Regions from separate parts of the Homo sapiens genome. Here region 2 is linked to region 1. The links are contacts of gene promoters, found by promoter capture Hi-C in human tissues and cell types (Jung and others, 2019). All regions are on one chromosome and are shown on one strand. The core of a region is centred on a gene start or on the middle of the fragment in contact, and the rest is flanking DNA. Distances in the headings are between cores, read along the strand shown. Region 1 holds the start of ARMC3 (armadillo repeat containing 3). Region 2 holds the start of LOC105376449 (a long non-coding RNA gene).

Region 1 (7,097 bases), core at 720-3,219:
TTGTTTTAAATCATCTGATTTTCACTTAGGAACTAATTTTTCCTACTTCAGGATAGTGTTTTTGAGCAATTGCATAGTGCAGAGGTTAGAAGAGCTTACACAGACAGTATTGCAATGATAGAGTGTCTCCTAAGCTAAAGAATGAAGTTAAAAGCCTATGTGTTTTATCATGGCCCGGCGTGGTGGCTCACTCCTGTAATCCCAGCACTTTGGGAGGCTGAGGCGGGTGGATCACCTGAGGTCAGGAGCTCAAGACCAGCCTGGACAACATGGCAAAACTCTGTCTCTACTAAAAATACAAAAATTAGCCTGGAGTGGCGGTGGCATGTGCCTGCATTCCCAGCTACTGGGGAGGCTGAGGCAGGAGAATTGCTTGAGGCCGGGAGGCGGAGGTTGCAATAAGCTGAGATCACCCCATTGCACTCCAGCCTGGGTGACAGAGCGAGACTCTGTCTCCTCCCCCAAAAAAAGCCTATGTGTTTTATCACCATATTGGGTATGATAGTTAATGGAGGAGAGACTGAACAGCTGACATAGGTCGGTGGCAATGAGCTATGGAGATGATCCTTACAAGGGTAATACATTTCACTGTGGAGAATTTGGAAAACAAGGGCACAACGAATAAAATAAAAATCACCCAAAGATAAGCTCAGAGAGATCAATACTATTTCTTTTCTTTTCCTTTCCTTTCCTTTCCTTTCCTTTCTTTTTCTTTTTCTTTCTCTTTCTCTCTCTCTTTCTCTCTCTCTCTCTCCCTCTCTCTCTCTCTTCTCTTTTTTTCTTTTTCTTTTTCTTTTTTGAGACAGAGTCTCACTCTGTTGCCCAGGCTGGAGAGTGGCCTGATCTTGGCTCATTGCAACCTCCACCTCCCAGGTTTAAGAGATTCTCCTGCCTCAGCCTCCTGAGTAGCTGGGATTACAGGTACCCGCCACCACGCTCGGCTAATTTTTGTATTTTCAGTAGAGACAGGTTTCCCCACATTGACCAGGTTGGTCTCGAACTCCTGACTTCAGGCGATCCACCCGCCTCAGCCTCCCAAAGTGCTGGGGTTGTAGGCGTGAGCCACCGTACCTGGCTTTGTGTGTTTTTCTAAAGTGATTTTAACATCCTGCCTCAACTTCTATCCCCTACTTTCACCTTCCCTTCCTGGGTTCATATTCCTACTAAATTCTTATATTAACAAATAAATTCATGAAGTCTCAGTTTCCCTTCATTGCTTTAATAATCTCCAGTGGATTAGCATAACATGCCATTACAAATATTTTAAAATCCCTTAGCTATCTAGCCAGTCTCTGATTGTTGAAATTTGTTTCTAATTTTCTGGAAATATGGACAGGGCTGAAAGAACGTCCTTGGACATAAAATTTTCATCCATTATCCCCAACTATTTCTTTAGGATAAATCTCTAGCAGTAAATTAACTGGGTGAAAACTTCAGGGCATTGGATATGCAAACAACTCTGCTCTAAAAATGCATCTTCTTGACTACTGGAGCCATTTTTTTTTTCACGAGTTGATTGGTCCTTTGTATTTGTTCTTCGTGAACGTTCAGCCTATGATTTTAAATATTTTCTAATGAGTTCTGCTTTGAGAAGATTTAAAGAGGAGGAGGGCTCAAGAAATCGAGGCCACTTCTGAGTTGCTCACAGTCAAGTAACGGAATCTGACTTGATCTCACCTCAGATCCCCTCTCGGGCCTCAGTTTTGTCACCTGTTGAATGGGAGGTGGCGGGATGCTTACGAAACCCACCCCAAGCCCCGTCTAACCCTGCGGGCGCGAGGCAGAAACTAACAACGCCCAGCAAGGTGTTGCCTCACTGACCCAAGCAGTCTGCGCCCACGTGGCACCTTCTCCTTTCCCAGGTTTTCCTCAGGCCTCTGCCTTGGGCCTCCCCACCCCACGGGGTTACCTTTACCTGCCGGGAGATCCCGCCGAGTAGCTAGCTGCTCCGCAAACCCAGCAGACGAACCCCCAGTCCCTTGTTGTGCCTCGTTGCTAGGCGACGCCACGCCGCGCCGCGCCTGCGCCCTGGGAACGCTCGGGGCTGCTAGGGCGCCCATTGTCCCGCCGAGGGCAGCGGCCAGTGCGGGAGGAGCCAAGTGCGTCCGCGATTACCTGAATCCAGTGCTTTAGGGGAGAATGGAAACTGGGGGTGGAAGCTGTAAATCAAGAGGCAGTTCAGCCTCAGTTTCTGGCCCAAGGACTGGCTGTGGGTTCAAATACGCAAATACTATTGCATTCTTCCAAATAGAGGCGTCAGCCGGAATCTCTATGCAGATGAAACCCACATCAGCCACCTCCTGCCCAGGCTCCGTTAAGCTGCAGACCTGCACTGCCACATCTCTTTGCACTAGGATGTCCAATCCGTTTCCACAGAACTTCTCATGGCCCTTCAAAGCCCCGTTCTCTTCCTCTTTCTTTCCTCTTCCTGCCATTCTTCCAATTGCCTAGACTCAGAAGGAGCTTCAATTTCCCTTCTTCCTCCCATGCCCCCCAACCACAGTCATCACTTCAGCCACTTCTTGGCGGCTTACATTTTGTTTCCTGCTTGTTCCCTTTCTCATATCCTTATTGTCACTTCAATCCAGCTCGTCATTTTTTGGCCTTCTGGCTGAGAAATTCAGTTGCTCTCTGCTTACAGTTCTTTCTACGTATCACAGGCAAATCGGCCATCCAGAAATCATCGTTCCAGTCTTGTCACTTCCCTACTCAAATGTCAGCGGCTTCCTAAGATAAATTTTCAACACATTGGCCTGGAATTTAAGACCGTCTGCTCCATCTCTACTCCATCTGTGCAACCACATTTTCAACCGATCTCCACCATCCAAGCTCCAGCCAAACTTACTGTTCCCGAAATTTTCCACACTTTTCTCTAGATTTTCTTGCTTATCTGTTCATCACTTCATTTTTCAACAAATATTTATAAAGTAGCTTCTATTTCCCAGGTCATGTGCAATACCTGAAATATTCTCTCATTTCCACTTAATTAAGCCCAGCTCAAATGCCATCTTCATAAAATATTTTTTGATTGCCTTTAGCAAAAAGTCTCTCCCTCTCCTCTTAGACTTTGCAAATTCCGTCTCCTACCGGCCCCTGTTGGTCTCCCAGTCCTAAGAATGATAGATGCTTCTTATAATTGCTACTTTTATATATCTTATGTTCTCTTCTCACCATTTAAATTGCCTGATAAACAGCTTTATAACAATTATTTGTATTCAGTTTTCCATGGTCAAATATCCGGTGTGACTTCTGTATAGAAAAGATCTTAAGTAATGGTCATGAAAGTAGGAAAAGGATTAAGACCAAGTAGCATCAAGGAAACTAAGGAGGGAGTTTCAAGAATATAAGCGTCATCAAGTGTTATATGATTGGACCTTGAATAATATACACCTGTATTTTCAGCCTCTCCCTGTCTTCCACGTTTTTTCCTGTTGGTATATAATTATGTTGAAGCCCCTCCCATGCCTCATCTAAAAAGCAAAAACAAATAAAATCCCTTTGATGTTGTTGTTCCTTCTAACTATTATCCTATTGTTTTCTTTCTCTTCTTGGTCATGACTTTTCAAAAAAAGTAGCCAGCATTAGATACTTACATATTTTTAACTTCCTATTCACTCTTCAGACTATAGTGACCTGTTTTCATCCCAGCACTAAAACTATCCATATCCATTGGATGCTTCTTAGCCCTCATCTTGCTTGACATTGCTGCTGTATATAATACTCAATGACACCTCATTCTTGAAACTCTTTTCTTGGTTTCCTTGGTACTACTTGCTCTTGATCTTCCTCCTACTTTCTTTTATGACCATCATTTAAGATCTTTTCTATACAACAGGGTCTATCTATGTTGCCCAGGCTTGTCTTGAATTCCTGGCCTCAAGGAATCCTCCTGACTCAGCCTCCTGAGTAGCTGGGATTTTATAGGGATATATGCCCTATTGTGGTTTTTTTACAGAATCTTAAATGTTGAAATTTCCCAGGGATCTGTCCCTTGTTCTCTTTTCACACTATATGCTTTTCTAGGTGATCTTATTTATATTTGTGACTTCAACTATTGCACATATGTAGCTCCTCATCAGACTCCGGTACTGAACTCTAGACCCATATATCCTACTTGCTACACAGTTCCACCTGGATACCCACAGGCACTTCAGTCATCAACACTACCCACCTAAACTCATCATTTTCCCAGTATAGACATGTTTTTCCATTTATCTAGGGGTACCAACAGGTGTTCTACCCAAACAGACCACCAAGTCTGACAGGCATCCTAGACTTATTCTCCTTTTCATGCAGTTAATTATTGGATTCCCCTAAAAGTTTCTTGAATTTATTCTCACCTTCCAATTCCCATAGCCCAAGTACAGAAAGTCACTGTCCTTTACCTGAATTCATCTAACAAGCCTTCTGGCAGGTCTTCCATCCTCTAGACTCATCCTAGCTTCAATTCATCTTCTCCAAGACAATCAAAGTAATCATTCTAAGATGCAAATTTAATTTGTCTGTGTCCTTGCTGGCTCCAATAGCTCTAACACACAAATGATGAAATGCAACAAGATTCTTAAATTGACACTCAAGATCTTTCTTGTTCTGACTGACTGCTTCCTACTACAATAGCTTCTGTCATTGTTCAAAAATATAGCAAACTGCTCAGCATTCTCCAAGTACACCATGACATTTTGAGCCCTTCACTCCCCTAATCAGCCTGAAAACCACTTATTCATCTTTCAAATTTTAACTTAGTCATCATTTCCTCCAAAAAGTCTTTATTAGCTTCTTCAGACAGAGGGAAGCATTTCTCATTCGTTGCTATAGCTGTACCTTACACTTGCTCTATTTGTTATTTTCACATGATACTGTAATGTATTTGTTGACATGTATGTCTCCCCACCTAGGCTGTTTCTAAATGTTCTTCAAGTAACTAAAGCTTTTTTAATACTCACTATGAGACTGGCAATTATGAAGTGGTTAAAGTGCACAATTAAATCCACACCGTAATCCTGTGAGGTCTGAATGAAGTACAGGGTGATTAGCAGAAGGTCACTCTACTAGTAAATGGTAAAGACAGGACTTGAACTAAGGTCAGCTTGACTTTTATATCCATGTTCTGCACCAATATATCATACCAGCCCATCCTGAAATTATAGTGTTATAACAAGTTGTGATTTATTTTATTTTATTTTATTATACTTTAAGTTCTGCACAATGTGCAGGTTTGTTACATTTGTATACATGTGCCATGTTGGTGTGCTGCACCCATTAACTCGTCATTTACATTACGTATATCTCCTAATGCTATCCCTCTCCCCTCCCCCCACCCCATGACAGGCCCCAGTGTGTGATGTTCCCTTGTGATGTGTTTTTATGAAATAATTAAAACTACTGCTTTAATTCTTGTTTTATAGACTTAGTCTTTGCTGAGTATGTCAAATTTGGGCGGGAGATCATGTTTATTTTAACATATACAGTTGGATGGGTTTGGACAAGGGTTTGCAGTTGTGTAACCATCACCCCAGGGAAGTTTCAGAGACCATCTCCATCATCCCAAATTTCCCTCATGCCCCTTTGAAGTCAAATCTCTCCCTCTAACTCACTTCCCTGGGAACAACTGCTCTGCTTTCTCTCCCTATCATTTTGGCTTTTCTAGAATGTCTTATAAACAGAACCATGCAATATGCTGTATTTTGTGTCTGGCTTCTTTAATTTAGCATAGTTTAGGAGATTTGTCCATGGTGTTGCATTTATCCATAGCTTATCTCACTTTATGGCTGAGTGGTATTGCACTGCATAGATGTACAACATCCATTTACTGATTGATGGACATTCTGGTACTTTCCAGTTTGGGACTGTTATAAATAAATATGGTTAAATATACAGGGTGTTGTGTGAACGTGTTTCTCTCTTCTTGGGAAAATACCCAGGAGTGGAATTTCTGGGTCTTATGTCATGTGTATGTATAATGTTATAACAACCTGCCAAATTGCTTTCCAAAGGAACTATACTGTATTTGCATTCCCACCAGCAAAAATGAGAGATGCCATTGCTTCATGTGTTCTACAGCACTTGATGTTGTCAGTCCTTTTAATTTTAGCCATTTTAGTGGGAGTATAATGGTATCTCCCTCTGGGTTTAATTTGCATTTCCTTCATGACTAGTGATGATGATCCCATTCTATGTGATCACTAGCCATTTCTGTACCTTCTTTTGTGAAATGCCTGTTAAAATATTTTTCCTACTTTTAATTGGGTTGTTTGTGTTCTTGAGTTGTAAGAGTTCCCTGTATAGTGATGATAATCCCATTCTATGTGATCATTAGCCATTTCTGTACCTTCTTTTGTGAAATGCCTGTTCAAATATTTCTCCTACTTTTAATTGGGTTGTTTGTGTTCTTGAGTTGTAAGAGTTCCCTGTATATCCTGGATACAGGTCATTTGTCAGATATACATTTTGGACATATTTTCTGACAGTGTGTGGCTTATCATTTTGTTTCTTAAAAATATATTTTGTACACCGGAAGCTTTCAGTTTTGATGAAGTCCAATTCATTCATTGTTTCAAAGGTTAGCCTTGTTTTGTTTTATTTCATTTTGCTTTTGCCCTGCCTAAGAAATCTTTGCCTAGTCCAAAGGGAAGAAAATAGACTTCCTTTTATGTTTTGTTTTAGAAGTCTTCCAGTTTTGATTCTTATATTTGGGTCTATGATCCATGTCACATTAGTTGCTGTATATGGTATGAGATGGTTTGAGAATCACAATTTTGCATATGAATGTCCAAATGTTCTAGTACCACTTGAAGAAAACACTATTTGTGTATTGAATTACTTTGGCATCTTTGTCGAAAATAAATTTACCCTTTGTAAGTGGATCTATTACTAGGCTCTATTCTGCTTCCTTGATCGATGCATCTGTCCTCACACTAATATTACCACGTTTTGCTTATTGTAGCTTACAGTAAGCCTTTAAATCAACTAACAGGAGTTATCAAAAAGATCAAATTTGTTATTTTTCAAATTGTTTTGGCCATTGTATGTCCTTTGCATTTTCCTACACATTTTAAAATTAGCTTGTCAATTTTCATCAGAAAATCTGCTGGAATTTT
Region 2 (7,291 bases), core at 2,526-5,025, 490 kb after region 1:
CAAATGCCGGCTTCTCCTTTCTTTCGCTGAGGCGGAGAAATCGCCCAGCGGTGCCCGGCGCGCCTCCCGCGGAAAGCGGGCGGTGACCATTCCGACAGGCCGTCCGCAGCGCTCCCTTTCCGCAGACAAAGCTGCCTCGAAAGGCGCTCCGCGGCTCCCGAGTCACCACGTTCCATTCGGCAGAAGAAAGCGAAAGCGGCCGCTCCCTGTCAGGCAGCCAGACAATAGCGGCGGGCAGGCCGCTCCACGCCAGCATCTTTGTTTCCCTCGCGCCGGGAAACGAAGTCTCCGGATACCACAGAAACCAGAAGCCGATACCACAGAAACCAGAGGCCGCTCTTCCCGCTCGGACGTTTACAGCGGGCGGGAGCGTGGCGGCCACCTCCGTCTTGGGGAAGCGGCAGGTTGAGCCCCGCACCTTGCTGTGCCCTCTAGAGCGAGCGGAGGAAGCAGGCGAAAAGCTGCTGCGAGATGTTGCGGCCTTGCAGACGTCTCAGCTCCTCCCGGCACGGCGGCCTGGTAAGGCGGGAAGTAGCGCCGGCCCCGCGCGGAAGGAAACGTGCAGCGCGATGCGGCTTAGCGCGGCTTTATAGAGCCGAGGCTTTATAGAGCCGCGCCCCGGCGACCCCTGCGGTGACTGCTGTCGGTCCGCGTTGTGTGTGTTCTCTGTTTCGGCCTCCGCTGCCCGCTGCGGCCTTGCCCCTGCGCCTCGGAGTAGCCGCCGCGGGCCTGTCTGCTGGAGCAAGGAGACCCGGAGGCCGTCCCAGGGGCGAGGGGGTAGCGGCCCCGGCCTCTTGGGCCCTCGGCCTCGCGCCCACCGAGCCCTCTGCCCGGGTTTGGTTGGGTGTGGAGCTTGCGACGCGCCCACTTCCTGGGCTGTGCTTCTGCCCGAGCTGATGCCTCGCCGCGACGCCAGGCCCTATCTTGACAGCGGGTGCCAGCAGGTCCAGGCCTACTGACGGGCGGAAGTCGGCCCGGTGCCCCCTCACACGCCCACACGCCGGGCGTGCCTCAGTTTCCTCTATTGTGACAGAATAGAGATGAGACGATGCAGGTTAAAATTACCTACCGGCGCATAATGAGTTCTCCAGCATCTAGCTAGTTCTACCATAGGATTAATACCCAAAACCACGTGGGTGGAGCTGAAAAACACGATGCTGTGGGGGGAAGAACCCAAAAAGCCATAGTCGGTCTGATGTCCATTTATAGGACATTCTAGAAGAAGCAACAGTGGCGATGCAAAGCAGTTGCCTGGGAAAGGAGTGGAACAGGACAGAATGGAATGCACAGGAGCGGGGGAACTTTGGGGCAGTGGTGGGACAATTTCATATCTTAATAGGAGCGGCGGCAACATGACGTATACAGTCGCCCCAAATCATCAAACTGTAGTTTCTAAATGGGTACGGTTTATTAACATTCAAATTATAAGAAAAGTCATTTCCTCAAAAGTTTCGGGGTTGGGGGAAGAGTTAAAGAAGGTCGTGGCTAGGTGGTTGTTGAGGAATAAGGGAGAAAATCACAGTTTACAAAATCTGAGAGCTGAATCCGTGCTGTTTCTCGATTGAGAAGCAGTGGACATCAGCAGTAGGAATGGCTCAGGTCCAAGAAGGCTATGCCCTACCAGACCCGGTTGATGTGCTTCCCCGGATTTACTCTGTCCCACCGTCCACCTCCACCCCGGCCTGCACCTCTCGCTTAGGGTAGAGGCCTGGCCTCCAGTGCCATCTCCCGACAGCCTCCCCCAGGTGAAGGTCATGCTTCAGCACTGCCTCCCTGACAGAGGCTCTGATGATGGGATGCTCTGACTCAGACTCAGGTGAGAAATTTGAAGGAACAGAATGCTCTTGCCTAGCAGTTGCCGGGAGGGGTCAGGTGCTGCCCCCAGAGAAGTGGGAGAGTTAGAGGTCCGTGAGGCATACTTTCCCCAAAGGGGGCAGAAAGCATGAAGTGGTCAGCATAGAAACTCGTCTCCCTGCCATCCACACAGTCCCAAGGCATGCTGGTTCTACATGGCTTGTCTGGAAGCTGTCCTTGAATGTAAAGTTGTTTTCAGCTCAATAATGTATTTGCCTGCCTTCGCCTTTCCTTTCACCCTTACCACCTTGGAATTGTACCGCCTAATAAAATCTTCGCACTTAAACTTGGCCTCAGGCTCTGTTCATGTGAATCAATTTAGCAGCCTTTGGGCTTTAGATCTGTGCTTTTCTGAAAATTTGGCAACCACAACACAAAATTAGGATTTTTGTTTCCTCTGGGCTCTGGTTTACTGTCCCATTAAAGTGCTTCTGTAAAAGGCAACCCAATTGAGACCAATGCTGAATATATAAATTTTTATAGGTATGCCCCTGTTTGAAGTTGCTAGAGACAGTAAAAGTTTGGGCTTCCATTTATTGGTTCCTAGTGGTGTTTATTCTCAAGAGTAAATTCCTAGAGCATTAGCACTTAAATGCTTTAAAAATTTGGAAACTTAAACCTGAGATGCATGCAAATGCAAAACAAAATGCTTTCAAATAATGATCATAAAGCTGTTAGTCTGGGGAGGTCTACTTATGTTTTTGGTCATGTTCTAGCTTTCCTAAAGACATCAGGGGAGGATATGTTAAAGCCTTTTTAAGTGATTTCTGGTTCATAGTGCTTTGCAAAACAATTTTTCTTGACATTATTTTCTATATTAAATACTTCAGTAAGTGTTTTTAATGATAATGGCCACTGGCTTTGTGGCCTACTGTTTATTGCAATTTTGTCGGGCCTTATTCTAGGCTTCCCTTTCACCTGGGCTTCCCAACTATCTGTAACTTGATCAACAGTAATTTGGGATGGGAATGGCCAGGGTCATATGTTAAATAGGGCAGTTCCACTTTTCTGACCACAAAATCCTCCCCTTCCTGACCACTTAAAAACTGTTACATAATCTACAAACACATGGCTCTAATAAGTTCTACTACATACCTTGCCAAAGGTCACACCTGCAATCTACCTTTCTATTGGCACAATACATTTTATTAGAGAATATTTTTATCGCTTATAATTGTGGCCTATCAGAGCACTTAATTATTTTTAATAACACATTCTGCCTTCATCCACATCATCATAGTGAATTGGTTTTTGCAAGGAAAACTTGGTCATCCTAGCATGTGAACAGTTTTTAATCTTTTTTTGAAAAATGTTTCATCTGAGATTAATTTCTGTTGGGAGCAAAAATGAAGCCAGGCTGTACACATGATGTGTTTAAATACATTTTCACAAAAAGAAAAATATTAAGAATATCTTGGGTCATAGACATGCAGTATCAGAAGGCATCCCAATAAACAAAAGTGAGAGCTCCTCTTTAATTCCTAGCACTTGATTATTTCTAAATATATAAGGGCAGATAATGTTCAGCAAACGTGCAGGTTTTACAAATTGGCTCCTTCAGAGTAGGTCATAAGCTTGCTGCAATTGTGTTCCCATTACTCAAACATTTTTAGAATTCTTTAGAAATTTGCCACAAGAGTCTGAGTCACATTCTTTTAAATGACATCATCAGTGATAGCAAATCTTCCTCCTCGGAGAGCAGATTTTTAGAAATACTCAAGTCATTTGAAACCACACTGAGTTTAGTAACATCATTTGGCAGGGAAAAATTGAACTAGAAAGAGTAAAAATAAGTGAACTGATTAATGGTTTTTTAAAAATTAAACTCCAAGAAATGGAGGATTAGGGAAACTTTGGAGCAGAAATTAATGATTAGAAACAATGTTTTTGATCAACTCCAAAGGTAATTCTTTGGAAAAAGATCAAGAAAATGGAGAAATCGCTGATGAATCTATTTAAAAAAAAAAAAAAGAAAAGAAAATATAAAGGAGAAAGGAGATATAACAGATATGGATACTTTTTTTTTTTTTTTGAGACAATCTTGCTCTGTTGCCCAGGCTGGAGTGCAGTGGTGCAATCTCAGCTCACTACAAGCTCCACCTCCCAGGTTCACGCCATTCTCCTGCCTCAGCCTCCCAAGTAGCTGGGACTATAGGCGCCCGCCACCACACCCGGCTAATTTTTTGTATTTTTTAGTAGAGGCGGGGTTTCACTGCGTTAGCCAGGATGATCCTGATCTTCTGACCTCCTGATCTGCCATGGAGACTTTTTATAAATTATATGAGACTGCTATGTGAAATTAGCTATGTGCTAAACATTTTTTTCTGGAAAACCATAAATCACCCAAATTGAATCTAGGAGTAGAAAAACTAAGTAGATCAAAGCTAGGGGAGAAATTTTAAAACGCCTAAAGACCAAGAGAGGCTTTAGGCAAATTCTTGCAAATTTTGAAAGACATAAAATCCCCTTTCTAAATGAATAAAGACACTAAAATTTAAGTTTTTTGTGAGTGAAACCACTTTTATTATAAAACCTATCAAAAATGGTATACGCCAAGCATGATGGCTCACACCTGTAATCCCAGCACTTTGGGAAACTAAGGGGGGAAGATCGCTTGAGCCCAGGAGTTCCAAGAGACCCTATCTATACAAAGAGTAAAAAATTATCTGGGCCTGGCTGGTGGTAGGCTCCTGCAGTCCTAACTACTCGGAAAGATGAAGTGGGAGGATCATATGAGCTTGATAGGTCAAGGCTGCAGTGAGCCATGATCTCATCACTGTACTCCAGCCTGGGTAACAGAGCAAGACCCCGTCTCAAAAAAAAGAAAAAGAAAGGGCACTCAAAAAATAAAAGTTCACATAAGAAACTCAATGCCAGAATTCCCCCCAAAATACCAAAAATGCCAGCAAATTAAATTCAATAAAGTCAGTCATTTTAAACAATCAGGTAGATTTTATCCTAGAAATGCCAGGATATTTCAATACCAGGAAAATAGTTTATATAAAAATACATTTAGATTATATAAGAATAAAAACCTTATTATCTCGATAAGTGATAAAAATCTAGCACCTATTCCCAATTAAAACAACTATATTTTTTAAAAACTTTTAGTAAATGTTAAACTGATAGCCAACATCGTATCTTTTAATAAGATTTTATAAAAATAATAATGGTACTGGTAAGACAGCCAAATTAACTTTACACCTTCTCTCTGAAGGCCTCCTGAGTAGCTGGGATTACAGGTGCACGCCACCATGCCCAGCTAATTTTTGTATTTTTAGTAGAGAGGGGGTTCCGCCATGTTGGCCAGGCTGGTCTTGAACTCCTGACCTCAGGTGATCCACCCGCCTCGGCCTCCCAAAATGCTGGGATTACAGGTGTGAGCCACTGCACCTGGCCTGCTTTTTATTTTTTAATTTCATAAAGTACTTTGTACATCTTCCCACATCAGCACATATAGACCTACCAAAATTTTTCGTAGTGGTTAAGTACAGTTATATGAATGAACCGTGATTTTTCACTCACCTATTAGGGACCATTTAGACTATTTTCTTGTTTTCTGCAATTACATACATTTAGAGCATCCTTGAATGTCTTTGCCCATTGATGCAGGTGTACTTGTTGGATTAATGCCTAGCAATAGAATTGCAGATCAATATTTGGATAGCTATTTCCAAATTAATATTCAAAAGACTGCATTAATTTATAATTCCACTAAAAGTGTGTTCAAAAATGTTGATAATTGTTGAGGCTAGGTGAGAGGCACATTAGGCTTTCATTTACTTCTGTGTATATTTTTAAATTTCCATACTCAATGACAGACAGGCATTTTCATTAAAAGCAGGTATAAATATGCCTGCTTTCACCACTATTATTTAAAATTATGCTGAAGTCATTCTGTAATAAGACAAGAAACAGAAATACTAAGGAAAATATTGCAAAGCAGTAGAAAAATTGCATTTGCAGATACTTTTTGCCTAGAAAACTTAAGAAACTTGATTGAAAATCTATTATAAAATAATTATTAAAATCAATAACTTTCTACTGATCTAGCAATAACCTATTGGGAAATATAACTTTTTTGGGGTGTTGGAACCTGGGAACAAATATATGTCTTAAAAAGATTCTATTGACATATAAATAATATTGGCAAGAACTGAAAGGGATTTATACAAAGAAAAAGAGAAAAAAATGAAAGCAAAAGTATTTGAATAGATTGAGAAATATATTATGCTCCTAGACAAAGATATCTATCCCTTAATTTGCAATTGTAACTAAAATTCCAACGGGACATTTTTAGAAGTTGAAAAAATGTATTTCCATCTGGAGGAAAAAACAGAGTAGCCAGAATACTTTGAAAAGAAAGAATAATAACATGAGATTTACTCTACCAGATGTTAATACATATTATAAAGCCATAATAATTACAATAATATTGAACTACTGAGGAAAGATTGACAAATATTTCAGAACAGATAGCCCTGAAAGAAAACTCAATATTCCAATAAATGAAGCATCACTAATGGAGAAGACATGGATTATTCAATAACTGGCACTAGGAAAACTGGCCAACCATTTGGGAAAAAAAAATCAGATTACATGTTCATTTCATGCAGTCTACTGAAATACTTTCCAGATAAAAAGATAAATGTGAAAACTGAACTATAAAAGAAGTTAAAAAAAAAATCTAAATGGATAGCTAAGTGATTTTGGGATGGGAAAGAACTAACCACAAAACAATGGAAGAACTCATAGATTTATCTGCAATAATCATTTAAAGCATCTGTATACCAAAAATTATAACAATATCAAATTAGAAGTTGTGAAGTAGAAAGATATTTGTCATGACTATCATAAAGTGGAAGAGTTAGTATTTACATACAGGTCCTTAACAACCCTTTTGAAAGAAGAAATCCCAAAACCTTTTGGGCAACAACAGCATCATTGAGCTTAAATTCAGAGAACCACTTTGAGAGGAGAGCTCATTTGGAAGAATCACTAACTTACTGAATTTTTAGAATGTTAGGTTTTTATTGTATGTTTTGTTTTGTTTCTTCTCACCTCATTTCCTGTGTTCAAGGTAACATCTGGAAATGCTTTCTTCTCCAGTTTATTTTTCAAAAGCTTCCTAGAATATTATACTCCTTATATCCTTTGGAAGAAGTTCAGTTGATCTCATTACAACCCCAGGGGTAGATACTCTTACTATTCCCATTTTCCAGATTAGGAAGGAGGTATTTTTGTGGCTTTAAGCATAAGTAGGCGGCAAACTGAAAAAAGTTGACATAAACAAGTCATTCGAAATAAAGTCATTAAAGGAGAATCCAAGCCCAGTGAACACTATTTAGAGAAAGAGAAACAGCTGTTAAAAGTACCTGGCAATCCTCAAAAGACATGTGCTCAGCCAGGATCCCTACACCCGCCCTCATCCTTAGTT

What was found. The method cuts DNA at HindIII sites, captures the fragments that hold promoters and counts their contacts. A contact is called where the count stands out against the background at its distance.
Region 2: a fragment that was not itself captured here is called in contact with the fragment with the promoter of ARMC3 in region 1 in 1 of the 25 tissues and cell types used here (small bowel).

Annotation. Positions count from the first base shown.
Region 1 is chr10:22,922,925-22,930,021 of GRCh38, reverse strand. ARMC3 (armadillo repeat containing 3) reads right to left here and starts at 1,969. Exons shown (of 19, transcript NM_173081.5): 1 at 1,916-1,969. The HindIII fragment of the contact is 8,735 bases long and covers 1-5,722 here.
Region 2 is chr10:22,430,279-22,437,569 of GRCh38, reverse strand. LINC03027 (long intergenic non-protein coding RNA 3027) reads left to right here. Exons shown (of 1, transcript NR_036533.1): 1 at 1-2,145. It overlaps LOC105376449 (a long non-coding RNA gene), which reads right to left and starts at 495. Exons shown (of 4, transcript XR_001747392.2): 1 at 419-495. RefSeq lists enhancers at 1-227, 194-243 and a silencer at 714-893. The HindIII fragment of the contact is 7,336 bases long and covers 108-7,291 here.